Linked DNA regions of Homo sapiens: region 1 is linked to region 2. The links are contacts of gene promoters, found by promoter capture Hi-C in human tissues and cell types (Jung and others, 2019). All regions are on one chromosome and are shown on one strand. The core of a region is centred on a gene start or on the middle of the fragment in contact, and the rest is flanking DNA. Distances in the headings are between cores, read along the strand shown. Region 1 overlaps LOC400622 (a long non-coding RNA gene). Region 2 holds the start of TK1 (thymidine kinase 1).

The links. The method cuts DNA at HindIII sites, captures the fragments that hold promoters and counts their contacts. A contact is called where the count stands out against the background at its distance.
Region 1: a fragment that was not itself captured here is called in contact with the fragment with the promoter of TK1 in region 2 in 1 of the 25 tissues and cell types used here (heart right ventricle).

Annotation. Positions count from the first base shown.
Region 1 is chr17:77,528,646-77,535,999 of GRCh38, reverse strand. It overlaps LOC400622 (a long non-coding RNA gene), which reads right to left. Exons shown (of 3, transcript NR_148967.1): 2 at 1,313-1,545. Among named protein-coding and RNA genes, the nearest start is that of MIR4316, 140 kb to the right of the region's middle. RefSeq lists enhancers at 1-439, 440-941. The HindIII fragment of the contact is 3,153 bases long and covers 4,154-7,306 here.
Region 2 is chr17:78,182,815-78,190,020 of GRCh38, reverse strand. It overlaps TK1 (thymidine kinase 1), which reads left to right and starts at 2,969. Exons shown (of 7, transcript NM_003258.5): 1 at 2,969-3,092; 2 at 3,203-3,234; 3 at 4,856-4,966. The coding sequence starts at 3,027. AFMID (arylformamidase) reads right to left here and starts at 2,659. Exons shown (of 11, transcript NM_001010982.5): 1 at 2,588-2,659. The coding sequence starts at 2,650. RefSeq lists a silencer at 2,677-2,816 and an enhancer at 4,855-5,756. The HindIII fragment of the contact is 12,138 bases long and covers 1-7,206 here.

The DNA.
Region 1 (7,354 bases), core at 4,481-6,980, 660 kb after region 2:
TGGCCCAAACCAAGAACCCAACCACAAGTCGATTCATTTCGAAAGCTATGTAATAATGTTTAGGATAAGGAATTAATTTTTACAGCCACTGGGGCAGTTGGACATCCACCGTAATACAGATTTATTACAAATTAAAACTTCCCCTCAGGTGGTGAATGTAAAGACACCATAGACAACAGGAAGGACCCCTGAGTCACACACCCCCTTAGGTATGCAGGAAACCAAGGGTGGGTATTTGAGGAGCCACCACCCTCTGCCCGGACTGCACTCCCCACACCACACGTGGCTGCGTCTCATTTCCTCCCCTCCCAGGAGGAGAGCAGTACCCCTACACAAGGACGTTGCTTCCTTGTTTTCTACCGAAGAGACCAAGGGCACCTTGAAGGCCCAGCGCTCTGAACGCCACTTTTCCTGGCTGTCTGGTTCAGACCCTGGAAGAGGAGCCATCGGGCAGGGAGGGGGATGACGTCAGCACCCACAGCTCCCAGCACAACGGCTTTCAGCCTGGCACTCTCAGCCAGTTTTGTGTTCAGAGAATACATTTTGGTTTACTCTTTGCTGATAAAACTCCATGCCTGGCCAGGCGCGGTGGCTTATGCCTGTAATCCCAGCACTTTGGGAGGCCAAGGCGGGCGGATCACGAGATCAGGAGATCGAGACCATCCTGGCTAACTTGGTGAAACCTCGTCTCTACTAAAAATACAAAAAATTAGCTGGGCGTGGTGGTGGACGCTTGTAGTCCCAGCTACTTGGGAGGCTGAGGCAGGAGAATGGCGTGAACCCTGGAGGCAGAGCTTGCAGTGAGCCAAGATCCCGCCACTGCACTCCAGCCTGGGCGACAGAGTGAGACTCCATCTCAAAAAAACAAAAAAAAAAAAACAAGAAAAACAACAAAAAAAAACAACTCCATGCCTTTGTCCTATGAGAGAAGCATGGAAACTCCAGGGTTCCCATGCAGGCCAGACGTCCCGACCCCTCCTTCCAAGACTGTCAAGCCAGAAAGGCACTTCGCCTCTTGGGTGGGTCCCAGGCAAGGCTTGGTGTCAGTATCTCCCCCTCCCGCCATAACTTTCTGGCAATCAGCTGTGGCTGTCACCCAAGTTGTGCATCAGAGACAAGAGGAACTTTTAGAAACAGCTTCCCGGGCCTCACCTTGGCAGTCCTACCCAGGAATCACCTTGGGAATCACCTTGGCAGAGCCCGGGAATCTGCATGTTAAAGCACCCTCTGGTTCTGATGATCAACCTGTTGGCATCTGCATGACACCCTTCTCTTTGAAAGGATCTGAGAGCGGCCCTTCATACATGCTCACCTGCTCCCTCTGCTAAGTGAGGAGGCAGTCATCTGCCAAGCACCAGGCTGGGGGTGCTGAGCTGCAGGGACTCTTGGGCTTCTGAAACCACAGGGTGCCTTTCTTCCAAAAGCTGCAGGTTCTTAGAAGCAGAGCTGCCTGACTACTGCCAACGGGGTGGTGGGCTCTTGTCCAGATCCAGACAGGGTGGGAGTGAGTCCATTTTCACACTGCTGATAATGACATACCGGAGACTGGGAAGAAAAAGAGGTTTGATGGACTTATACTTCCACATGGCTGGGGAGGCCTCACAGTCATGGTGGATGGCAAGGAGGAGCAAGTCATGTCTTACATGGATGGCTCAGGCAAAGAGAGAGGTTGTGCAGGGAAACTCCCCCTTATAAAACCATCAGATCTCACGATACTTATTCACTATCATGAAAACAGCATGGGAAAATCCCACCCCCATGATTCAATTACCTCCCACCGGGTCCCTCCCATAACACATGGGAATTCAAGATGAGATTTGGGTGGGGACACAGCCAAACCATATCACACGTCCATGCCCAAGCATGGAGGGCCAGGAAGTGCAGGGTATACACACAGTGGATGGGTATGTTTCTTGGTACACAACTCTGACTCTTTATATATAGCATTTCCTGGACCCTTTTTGAGGACCTCAGATCATCCCTGGCATTTTGGGCCCATTGTCTGGCTTCATGTCTTTTTTTTTTTTTTTTTTTGAGATGGAGTCTCACTCTTGTTGCCCAGGCTGGAGTGCCTGGAGTGCAGTGGCGCAATCTCCACTCCACTCACCACAACCTCCGCCTCCCAGGTTCAAGCGATTCTTCTGCCTCAGCCTCCTGGGTAATACCAGCACTTTGGGAGGCCGAGGCAGGTGGACCACCTGAGGTCAAGAGTTTGAGACCAGCCTGGCCAACATGGTGAAACCCTCGTCTCTACTAAAAATACAAACATTAGCCGGGCATGGTGGCAGGCACCTGTAATCCTAGCTACTCAGGAGGCTGAGGCAGGAGAATTGCTTGAACCTGGGAGGCGAAAGTTTCAGTGAGCCAAGATCGTGCCACTGCACTCCAGCCTGGGCAACAGAGTGTGACTCCATCTCACAACATAAATAAAAATAAATAAATAAATTGAAAAGTCTAATTAAGAAGTAAAACTTCTTTTACTTCTAAAATTTCTTTTCTGCCTGCTTTTGCTAGTAGGAAATTTTTTTCTGTTTCCTCCGAGTTCAGGAGAGGAAACCCTGTTCTTCTCACAATTACTCTGCGTGAGAAAACCCAGGTAAAAAGAACCAACAGCACCGCCCCTGAGCCCCTCCCTTACCCACCCCCCCAGCTGAGCTTGCAAAGGAGGAAAGCATGTTGTGTGTGGCTGCAGCCATTTAAAATGCAGGCGGGGCTGGGTGCAGCAGCTCATACCTGTAATCCCAGCACTTTGAGAGGCTGTGTTGGGCGAATCATCTTGAGTTCAAGACCAGCCTGGCCAATATGGTGAAACCCCATCTCTGCTAAAAATACAAACATTAGCCGGATGTGGTGGTGCATGCCTGTAGTCCCAGCTACTCGGGAGGCTGAGGCCAGAGAATCACTTAAACCAGGGAGGTGGAGGTTGCAGTGGACTGACATTGAGCCACTGCACCCCAGCCTGGGTGACAGAGCAGGACCCTGTCTCAAAAATCAATCAATCAATCAACAAAATGCAGGAGGGAGTCACTGTTTCAAGGTGTCCTGTGGATATCCTGGCCTACTTGGGAAGCAGAATTGGTCTGGACATTTTTCTGGAGCAAAACTTCTTGACACCTGTAGCAATAGTGTCTCCCTAGACATATGACCTGACTGGTAAATGGCTTCATGTCCCAAAGTTTCCAACGTGGAATTTTTTCAGAAGGGCACCAGGAAATGTGTAAGACATAAAAATCACAAGCAAAAAAACAACAAAAATAAAAATCACAAGCATTCGACCTGAGCCACGTTGCTGAACTTCTCTGTGCCCATCTCCTCATCTGTAAAATGGGACAGTAAGACGTTTGGCTTCTTTCCTTCCCTACAATAAGTGTTGATGGGGGGCGACTATGCCGGGGATAGTCACACGCTCCCCAAAGGCCCTCTCCAGAGCTCTATCAGCAAGGATGTGGAGGGAGGACCCCGCGATATACTCTAAGGGCAGAAGATTCCTGACTGCTCTGGCAATCTGAAGGAAGGCAAGGGCAGTCCTGGTTGTTGGCATCATCACAAAACCTTCTGTGAGCAAAGGAAGAGAGGACCCATTCAGGACCCATTAAGTCCTGACTGTGCCATGGAAGAGACATCTTCTGGGTGGACACTGATGTTCAGTGGCCTCCAGGGGACTTGGCAGGTCCCCTTGACACACTGGAGGCTCCCTAGCTAAAGTCCCCTCCCAGACACCCTCATTCCTGTATCTCCAGGACTGGAGAGGCCTACTGGCCATCCAGGAGGATGTTTCTGTTGTCGGGCAGAGAGAAGTGAATTTTAGACCTTGCCTCCTGCCCACCTCCACCCTACAGCTCAAGAATATGACAATTTCCAGGACTGTGAGGACCAACTGAGACCACGTGATTTTGCAAGACATGGACGCAGCTGTGAGTCTGAGTTACTATCCCAACTATCGTCACCACCATTGTCTCTGCCGTCACCCTGTGAATGTGCCAAGGTCACTACCAGCACCTGGGTCCCCTCCAAGCTCCTGCAAGGGCAGTTTGTGGTGATGAAGACGATGTTAACTCCACACTGTCTCTGCTCTGACAACACACAGTGTCTGTAAGCTTGCTGGCCACAGTGGATCTGTGCTGCCCGACATGGCCATCTTGGCACGAACACAGTGAGTTACTAAACGGTCTCCTTGTTGAGATACCTACCAACTGTGGCAGGTGAAGCTTTCCCATCCTCTGCATGGGGCTGACCATCTGCCCGACAACAGAAACATCCTCCTGGATGGCCAGCAGGCCTCTCCAGTCCTGGAGATACAGGAATGAGGGTGTCTGGGAGGGGAATCTAGCCAGGGAGCCTCCAGTGTGTCAAGGGGACCCGCCAAGTCCCCTGGAGGCCACTGAACATCAGTGTCCGCCCAGAAGATGCCTCTTCCATGGCAGAGTCAGGACTTAGTGATCAAAACTGCCCAGGCCCCAGGAGGAGTTAGGCTGGGGTGTGGCACACAGGCCTGTACCCTCCCTAGTGACCACAAGGATGGCAGGGGCCACATCCTTTGACCCCACACAGGGAGACCTTATCGGCAAGTGGGTTACTGTTGAAAAACACTGCCACGGGCCAGGGCATCCATGGCTTCCAAATGCTCAAAACTGCTTCCGATCATCTTGGAAAATTGTCCAATTTTTGAACGATGGGGGTGGGGATAGGCAGGAAACAGGGTCTGAAATTTATTTCTCTGTCTTTTATTGGAATAACTTAATCCCTGCTAGTAGTTAAATATGAGAGTGATGTGACGTTATCATAAAAGTAAACACACAATTACAGTAGGGGGTAGGTGTAAAACAAAACAACACCCGAGCTGATTATTTACCCAACCAACTGGAAACACATGAGCAAAACCATCCTGCCCTGACAGGTGAGCACATTCATAATTGCTTTTAAACATGTACTTAAATGTTGATCTGTTGTGTAAATACCTTTTTAAACGAGTACGATTTAAGACAATGTAACTGTTACAGGGGCAGGGGGCGTGGGGCAGGAGAATGACTAAGGAGACCAACTTGAATTCCAGCACTCACCTCTGTGGTCCACGTCCCCTCATATCAGAGCAGGTGTTTTCATAGACCTGGCGGCTATCTTTGGGCATACATTTTGGATTCATTTGGTTCAACAGACCCTGTATTTGTTGTCGAGGGCTGCCACGGCAAGCCACTGCGGTCAGAGTGCCTTCAACAGGAACGCATCACCGCGCAGTTCTGGAGGCTGAAGTCTGAGATCAAGGTGTCTCGGCAGGGTTGGTTTCTTCTGAGGCCTCTCTCCCGACCTTATAGAACAGGGGTCCTCAACCCCTGGGCCAAGGACCAGTACCGGTCTGTGGCCCTTTAGGAACCATTGGATGTGCACAAGAGCATGAAACCTGTTGTGAACGGCACATGTGAGGGATCTAGGTTGCGTGCTTCTTATGAGAATCCAAGGCCTGATGATCTGTCACTGTCTCCCATCACCCCCAGATGGGACCATCTAGTTGCAGGAAAACAAGCTCAGGGTCCCTCTGATTCTACATTATGATGAAATGTATAATTATTTCATTATATATTACAATGTAATAACAACAGAAATAAAGTGCACGATCAATGTAACGTGCTTGCATCACCTCGAAACCACCCCCCACCCCACCCGGGTCCGTGGAAAAATTGCCTTCCACGAAACCAGTCCCTGGTGCCAAAAAGGTTGGGGACTGAGGTTATAGAAGGTCATAGAAGGCTGTATCTCCAAATACAATCATATCCTGAGATACTGGGGCTTCGGGATTTATTTTATTTTTATTTTATTTATCTATTTTTTTGAGACAGAGTGTCGCTGTTGTCCCCCAGGTTGGAATGCAATGGCGCGATCTCAGCTCACCGCAACCTCTGCTTCCCGGGTTCAAGTGATTCTCCAGCCTCAGCTTCTGGAGTAGCTGGGATTACAGGCAGCCACCACCACTCCCCGCTGATTTTTGTATTTTTAGTAGAGACGGGGTTTCACCATGTTGGCCAGGCTGGTCTCGAAATTCTGACCTCAGGTGATCGCCCCCAACTCGGCCTCCCAAAGTGCTGAGATTACAGGTGCTCGCCACCACGCCCAGCCAGGGGCTTAGGGATTTAATATATGGATTTGGGGAGGACACAATTTAGACCATAACAGATTACTTCCGCAAAAGCCAAAACCCACGTTACACAGGGAAGGAAAGGGTTGACTGAGAACCCAAGTCAGGTAGGGCCTAAAGCCCTGCGGGAAGGACACCTGGTTCTAGGTACTGGCTTTATCTTTAAGGATAAAGACCCTAAAGGTGATTTTAAAGTAATAAATAAACACTTCCAAGGCACAGAGAACATCCCAGAAAGTTCCAGACATGTAGGACTATCCTGATAAGAGAAGCAAGAAAGTGATTTCCAGGGTCAATGTTGGAGACACTAGAAGGGGGCAGAAGGCATTGGGGGAGAAGGCAGCCCCTCTGCAGGGCCTGGCAAGCAGGGGATATGCCCACTGCTCCTGCCTGTGCACCCGGTGGGCAGCCCCTCGGCGGGCTCATTAACTGCCATCCTCAGCACTGAGGGACCCGTTCCCGGTCAGGGAGCAGAACCGGCTCTTCCCCAGGGGGATGCAGGCAGGAGGCCAGCGCTTACCTGACTGACAGGTGTCAGGTCAAATCACCAGGTCTCCTGAAAATATCAGCCTCGCCTCCTGCCGGGCCACGCCAGCCAGGGATAGAGAGACAGACAGCTCCCCTAATGATGCCAGACAGACCTTCTGACAGCTCTGCCCTCCCGGGCCCCCGGAACAGCCAGCGCGGAGTGCTCTGCTCCAGGAGGGGTGGGGACCCTGGCTTTCCTGCCCTGCCCAGCCCAGCCCAGCCAAGCAGCAGAGAGAACAGGACGGAGGCTCCCATTTCCCAGGGACTGCAGCGCCTCCAAACCGCCCATCTGCGACGGCCCCGCGAGCGTGCGCAGCCCAGCCCCTCCCGGACGTCCTCGCCCCCGCCCGGGCACATCGTGCTCCGCACCGAGGCAGAGAGGGGCACGCGGATCCCAGCCCCTGCGAGCCCCTCTGCCCGCCGCCACTTCACACCCCGCATTGCCTCAGCTGCCGTTCCAGAAGATGCATCGTCTGGCGCGCAAAGCGGTGCACGGTCCCCAGCCCGCGCGCAGCAGCCTGGAGGGGCGCCAGAGTCCCCGTCCCACTTCCTGGCGGCACTGCCCCCGGGCAGCTCCCTCCTCCCCTCTCTCCCTCCATGCCCCCACCCCATCTTGGGACGCTTCCAGGACCGAAGAGGCAGGAGGGGGATCGCGAGGGGAAGGCGCGGAGCTGGGGAAGGAGGAGCAGCGCCGGG
Region 2 (7,206 bases), core at 1,720-4,219:
ATTTCTACTAAAAATACAAAAATTAACCAGGCATGGTGACGCGCGCCTGTAATCCCAGCTACTCAGGAGGCTGAAGCAGGAGAATAGCTTGAACCAGGGAGGCAGAGGTTGCAGTGAGCCGGGATCATGCTACTGCACTCCAGCCTGGGCGACAGAGTGAGACCCCATCTCAAAAAAAAAAAAAAAAAAACCAACAGAAAATGCTGGACACGGTGGCTCTCGCCTGTAATCCCAGCACTTTGGGAGGCCAAGATAGGCAGATCACTTGAGTCCAGGAGTTCCAGACCAGTCTGGGCAATATGGCGAAACACTATCTCTACGAAAAATATGAAAAATCAACCGGGCATGGTGGTGGACACCTGTAGTCCTAGCTATTCGGGAGGCTAAGGCAGGAGAATCGCTTGAGCCCAGGAAGCAGAGATTGTAGTGAGCCAAGATTGCGCCATTGCACTCCAGCCTGAGAGAGCAAAACCCTGTTTCAAAAAAAAAAAAACAAAACACTGGGCGTGGTGGCTCACACCTGTAATCCCAGCACTTTGGGAGGCTGAGGCGGGTGAATCACCTGAGGTCAGGAGTTCGAGACCATCCTGGCCAACATGGTGAAACTCCGTCTCTACTAAAAATACAAAAATTAGCTGGGCATGGTGGCGGGCGCCCGTAATCTCAGCTACTCGGGAGGCTGAGGCAGGAGAATCGCTGGAACTCGGGAGGTGGAGGTTGCAGCGAGCTGAGATCCCACCATTGCACTCTAGCCTGGGTGACAACAGCGAGACTCCATCTCAAAAAAAAAAAAAAAAAAAAGTAACAAGGAACCAGATTTTGAAGAAAGGGCTCAAAACCATCATGAGAAATGGGAAGTCAGGGCAGCCTCATGGCAAGGCCTGAGGTCAAATGCCATCTGACCTCCCTCACTTACTTACTGTTTTATCCTCAACAAGTTACTTAGTCTCTGAGATTCAGTTTCCTGACTGGTAGAAGGTATCTATCCAGGCCCGGCACAGTGGCTCACACCTGTAATCTCAGCACTTTGGGAGGCCGAGGCGGGTGGATCACTTGAGGCCAGGAGTTCAAGACCAGTCTGTCCAACATGGCGAAACCCCATCTCTATTAAAAATACAAAAATTGGCCAGGCGCAGTGGCTCATGCCTGTAAACCCAGCACTTTGGGAGGCCAAGGGGGGCGGATCATGAGGTCAGGAGTTGGAGACCATCCTGGCTAACACAGTGAAACCCCATCTCTACTAAAAATACAAAAAAATTAGCCGGGCATGGTTGCGGGCGCATGTAGTCCCAGCTACTCAGGAGGCTGAGGCCGGAGAATGGCGTGAACCCTGGAAGAAGAGGTTGCAGTGAGCCCAGATCGCGCCACTGCACTCCAGCCTGGGCGATAGAGCGAGACTCTGTCTCAAAAGAAAAAAAAAAAAAATTAGCCAGGCATGTAGTACCAGCTACAGTGTGCCTGTAATCCCAGCCACTCGGGAGGCTGAGGCAGGAGAATCACTTGAACCCGGGAGGTAGAGGTTGCAGTGAGCCGAGATCATGCCACTGCACTCCAGCCTGGGTGACTGAGCGAGACTGTGTCTCAAAAAAAGAAGGCATGTATCCAAATCACAAGGTTAAAAGAGATAAAGCATGCGAGTAAAATAAAGCAAGCCAGTCAGTGTGGGTTGCTTCTTCCTCCCAGTGAAGGAGCTCTTTGTCAGAGGTCCTTGGATCTGTCCAATCTGTACCTGGAAAGGTTATTACCTGTAGGATCCTTACAGCCACACCTGGCACACTCTGTGATCACTACCACCATCTTTGTTGCTATTATTTATGATCATGATTATACAATGGGTTTCTTTTCTTTCTTTCTTTTTTTTTTTGAGCCACCGCACCCGGCCTGTATGTTTCTAACCTTCACAACCCCAATGTAAATACCAGCTGTTCTGAATCCTTCAGCCTGTGCCACATAAGCACAGACCCAAAAACATTGTGTAACCTCAGATCAAGGTCCAGAACTTTGTCCCCTAACCTCCTGCGGGTCTATGGATTTTTTTTTTTTTTTTTTTTTTTTTTTTTGAGACTAAGTCTTGGTCTATCGCCCAGCCTTCCAGGCTGGAGTACAAATGGCATGATCTCGGCTCACTGCAACCTCCACCTCCTGGGTTCAAGCGATTCTCCTGTCTCAGCCTCCCCAGTAGCTGGGATTACAGAGGTACATCACCACGCCCGGCTAATTTTTGTATTTTTAGTAGAAACGGGGTTTCACCATGTTGGCCAGGCTGGTCTCGAACTCCTGACCTCGTGATCCGCCAAAAGTGCTAGGATTACAGGTGTGAGCCGCCACGCCTGGCAGGGTCTACGGATATTATTAGCATAGTCAGGACTTCAATTTTCTTTATCCTGAAAACCAGGTTAACAAAAATCCTTAGGAGAAGGTAAAATACACCATGGTGCTCAAGCACTGGGGACCTGGCACGCACTAGGCGCTCTGCATGCCCACAGGAGTGCTCTAGACGGCTTCTAAGCTTCCTTCTTGGAATTCCAATCTAATAAATGAGCTAACTCCGCCCCAGCCCCTTAGTCCCTCCCTGCAATCCACCTACCTCTGCAGACATCTTCTTCCAAGGAACCTTGCTTGGGAAACCCACACCAGACACATCCATCATGGCGTCTACAGCCGCATGGGCGTGCGTCCCTCTGTTTATATGGCCAGAGCCCCGCCTCGCTCCGCCCCTTTAAACTTGGTGGGCGGACCGAGGCGGGGCTCAGACCAGGCCCCACCCCGATCAGCCACGTCCATCGCCCTGATTTCCAGGCCCTCCCAGTCCCTGGGCGCACGTCCCGGATTCCTCCCACGAGGGGGCGGGCTGCGGCCAAATCTCCCGCCAGGTCAGCGGCCGGGCGCTGATTGGCCCCATGGCGGCGGGGCCGGCTCGTGATTGGCCAGCACGCCGTGGTTTAAAGCGGTCGGCGCGGGAACCAGGGGCTTACTGCGGGACGGCCTTGGAGAGTACTCGGGTTCGTGAACTTCCCGGAGGCGCAATGAGCTGCATTAACCTGCCCACTGTGCTGCCTGGCTCCCCCAGCAAGACCCGGGGGCAGATCCAGGTGCGGGGGCCAGCCCTGCGCGTGGCTGGGGATGAGGTGGTCGTGGTGATAGCCTGTGTCCAGGCATCCGCGCAGGGCGGGCCCTCAAATGACCTCACCTTCTCTCCTAGGTGATTCTCGGGCCGATGTTCTCAGGAAAAAGGTAATGGCTTCGCGGGGCTGGGGTGGAGCTCCTTCCTCTTCTCCGGGGACCCCTTGTCCCGTCCCTCCCCTCCCCTTCCCTCCCCTCCCCTCCCCTCCCCTTCCCTTCCCTCCCCTTCCCTTCCCCTAGAAGGACCAGCACAGCCTCCTACAGCTCCCGCCTGGGGTGCTCCTCCCTTGAATTCAGTCCAGGAGGAAGTCTCTGCCCTCTTCTGCCCAGGCCAAGCCCCTCGTCCTGTGTGGACGCCACTCCCTCCTGGAGCTGGTGACAGCTGCTTACAGCTTAGCTGTCTTCCCCACCAAGTCCTCTGAGAAGGTGGCAACCAGTTGTGTCCCCTGTAGGCCAGGCCTTTTTGTACACCCCTATTCAATGTGGCTGTTTCCTTCTAAGGCCAAGGAAACGTAGTCGCTTTCTAAACCAAGGAGTCTGAAGCCGTGGAGCCTCTGCTCTCCTGAGGTGATAGAACCATTCCCTGACCCGGGTGGGGCTAGTGAGTTTCTTGAGTAAACTACCCACGCACCATTCTTTTTGTTTTGTTTTTGTTCTTCTAGAGGTAGGATCTTGCTATGTTGCCCAGGCTGGTCTCAAACTCCTGGGCTCAAGCAATTCTCTCACCTCAGCCTCCCAAGTAGCTGGGACTACAGGCGTGCACCCCCCCGCCTCCACCCAGCTAATTTTATTTTATTTTTATAGAGCTGGGGTCTTGCTATGTTGCCCAAGCTGGTCTTGAACTCCTGGTCTCAAGCAATCCTCCTACTTCAGCATCCCAAAGTGCTGGGATTACAGATGTTAGCCACCATGCCCTGCCCCAACATTCTTTTATGGCCCTGGGGATCACTTCAGCTCAAACCCCTTGCTCAGGAAGATGTGGCTCAGAGTTGGACTTCTTGGACCCAGAAGCAAGTGCTTTTGACGCTGCACACAAAGACTTTCTGAAATTAATTTAGAAAAGCTGTATGCCAGGTGTGGTGGCCCACGCCTTTAATCCCAGCGCTTTGGAAGGCTGAGGTGCGTTGATCACTTGAGGTTAGGAGTTTGAGACCACCCTGGTCAACGTGGTAAAACCCCATCTCTACTGAAAAAAAAAACCAAAAATTATCTGGGCATGGTGGCAGCCTCCTGTAATCCCAGCTACTCGGGAGGTTGAGGCAGGAGAATCTCTTGAACCCGGAAGGCAGGGGTTGCAGTGAGCTGAGATCGCTCCACTGCACTCTAACCTAGGCAACAGAGCGAGACTCCACCCCAAAAAGAAAGAAAGAAAAACTCTGAACTCTGGGAACAACTCTGGGATGAGGTTACTTTGGAATGCAGTCGCAGGTTCCCTCTACATGTAGCCTTTGCTTCTGCCTTCCCCACTACATCTTGGAGAAGGTTACTCCTCCCACACTTCCTGGGACCACCTGAGTACCATTCCTGGACCTCTTCCCCATAGAGAATTCTGACTTCCAACCCTCTTTGTAGGGATATTATACCCTGCCTGCTCTGCCCTGCTCTTTTCTGGCTGTGGTGGGCTCAGTCTGCATACCACTAGGGACAATGAGGAGCCAGGCTTGTTGGGGAGGGGTCTCCTTCTCCCACTCCTCCCGCCGTGGACCTCACCTGACCCTCTCTCCTCTTGCAGCACAGAGTTGATGAGACGCGTCCGTCGCTTCCAGATTGCTCAGTACAAGTGCCTGGTGATCAAGTATGCCAAAGACACTCGCTACAGCAGCAGCTTCTGCACACATGACCGGTCAGTCCCTGCCCCCTGCAGTCCTGTCCAGTGGAAAATCACAAGGCACAGGACACACTGTTAGGACTCTCTTTAATGGGGATGGTTAATCATTTGAACATTGAATGATTCAAATCAGCACACTTTCCAAGGTGCTTGGCAAGGTAGCGCACACTCTCCACTCCCTGGGCTGGAGCCAGTGGTTCTCCACTGAGGGTGATTTTGCCGCCAGGGTCCATTTGACAATGTTTGAAGACATTTCTAGTTGTTGCAACTGGAGGGGGGAGGGGATGCTTTTGGGCTTTAATGTGTAGAAATCAGGGACACTGCTGCTAAGGGTCCTATGGTGCAGAGGACGGCCCCCATGCAAGAACGAGCTGGCCCCAAATGTCAGGAGCCTGCCAGTGTTCAGAAACTCTGCCGTAGGGTTTCAGCTTCACACAGGCTGCAGACTGGTTTGGTTTGGCCTGCACGTTGATTTTTGTTTAATTTTTTAGTTGTCCGTTGTTGGCTGGCTCCCCCGTCACCTGGCAGCCTTCACGCTTCCCTGTTTTATGTGTAGCTGTTTGAGCTCGCTGGACATTTCCGCCTGCAACCTCAGTTTGGGAGTTAAATTCACTTCCTTGGCAGCAGATGTGGGCCTGATGTTTCTGAGCCTGAGACGCTTTGCTTGGTCCTCTGGACTTGTCCACCTGGGCACCCAGTGGCAAAGCCATGCTGTGCCACACATTATAGGGCTTCAGCCTCAGAGCCCTGGCTGGGAGCTGTATCCGAGAGTTGCTATGGCTGTGCAGAGAACAGATCCACCCGGCGTGTGGCCTTCGGTGGGAGCTGAGGGGCTCCTGAAGCCAGATGCTGGTGGAGTGGAGGGTGCTTGGGGCTTGGAGTTGCATGTGGGAATTTAACCGCACTTCGTGACCATGCTGTCTGATGTAGGTCATTTACTTTTCCAAATTTGCTTCCTCATTCCTAAGATGCGATGTCCACGGCACAGGGTGGTGTTACACCTGGTGGGGACAGGGAAAGCAGAGGAGGTCACTTCGTTCCAGCTGTTGGAAGTACAACTTCTGGAGTCAGTCAGATCCGGGATTAAATATGAGTTCTGCCCGTGTGTCACAAGTCATCTCTAACACGGGCCACAGAGGCCAAGGCTGGGCCAGCAGCATTGATGGCTCGAGAGGCTGCCCTTGCAGGGGCCACAGCTGGCCTCCCACCTGCCCTCACTTTGTCTTTCTCTGTTTAGGGAGGGAAGAGGGAATTTAAAATGCCCAAAATACTGTTTCACACATTCTTTCCAGAACTCGAAGTAGGATTATAGCAAGGTAATAACGAAACAATAGTTGTAAAGTATGTTTTTTTGTTTGTTTGTTGTTTGTTTTTGGGACAGGGTCTCTCTCTGTCACCCAGGCTGGAGTGCAGTGGCTCAATCATAGCTTACTGTTACGTGACCCCAAACCCTTGGGCTCAAGTGATCGTCCCACCTCAGCCCCCTGAGCAGGTGGGACTACAGGCGCACACCACCACACCCAGTTAATTTTTACATTTTTTTCACACAGTGTCTCGCTGTGTTACCCAGGCTGGTCTCGAACTCCTGAGTTCAAGTGATCCTCCCGTCTTGGCCTCCCCAAAGATTACGGGCATGAGCTGCTGTGTCTGGCCAGAATACAGGATTTTAAAAATTTATGTTTTGCAACATAATTAATATAAAGACAAATATAACCCAGGCCCAGTTCTAGTTATTCATTCTTCTGAATTTTAAAAGGAAACATTTGGCTGGCCCCTAATGGTATCATGGGCCCTGGTACCTGATGAAGTTGGCCTAGTCTGCCCCCAGCTCCTGAACAGTGGAAGAGTTTTTAGTCTCATTGAGCTTTGTACTGGACATTACTAATTTCTAATCCAAAGCATCAAGTGAAGTGGCTTGTATAAATAACTGGTTTTCCTCTGGGAGGCTAAGGCGGGTGGATCACTTAAAAGTTAGGAGTCTGAGACCAGCCTGGCCAACATGGTGAAACCCCATGTCTGCTAAAAATACAAAAATTAGCTGGGTGTGATGGTGTGTGCCAGTAGTCCCAGCTACTCTTGTGGCTGAGGTGGGAGAATCGCTTGAGACCCTTGAGAATTGGGAGGTAGAGATTGCAGGGAGCCGAGATGGCGCCACTGCACTCCAGCCTGGGTGACAGAGCAAGACTCTGTTTCATAAAAAATAAATAAATAACTGGTTTTCTGGACGAGGGCCTTTCCCATAGGTGCTAACTTCT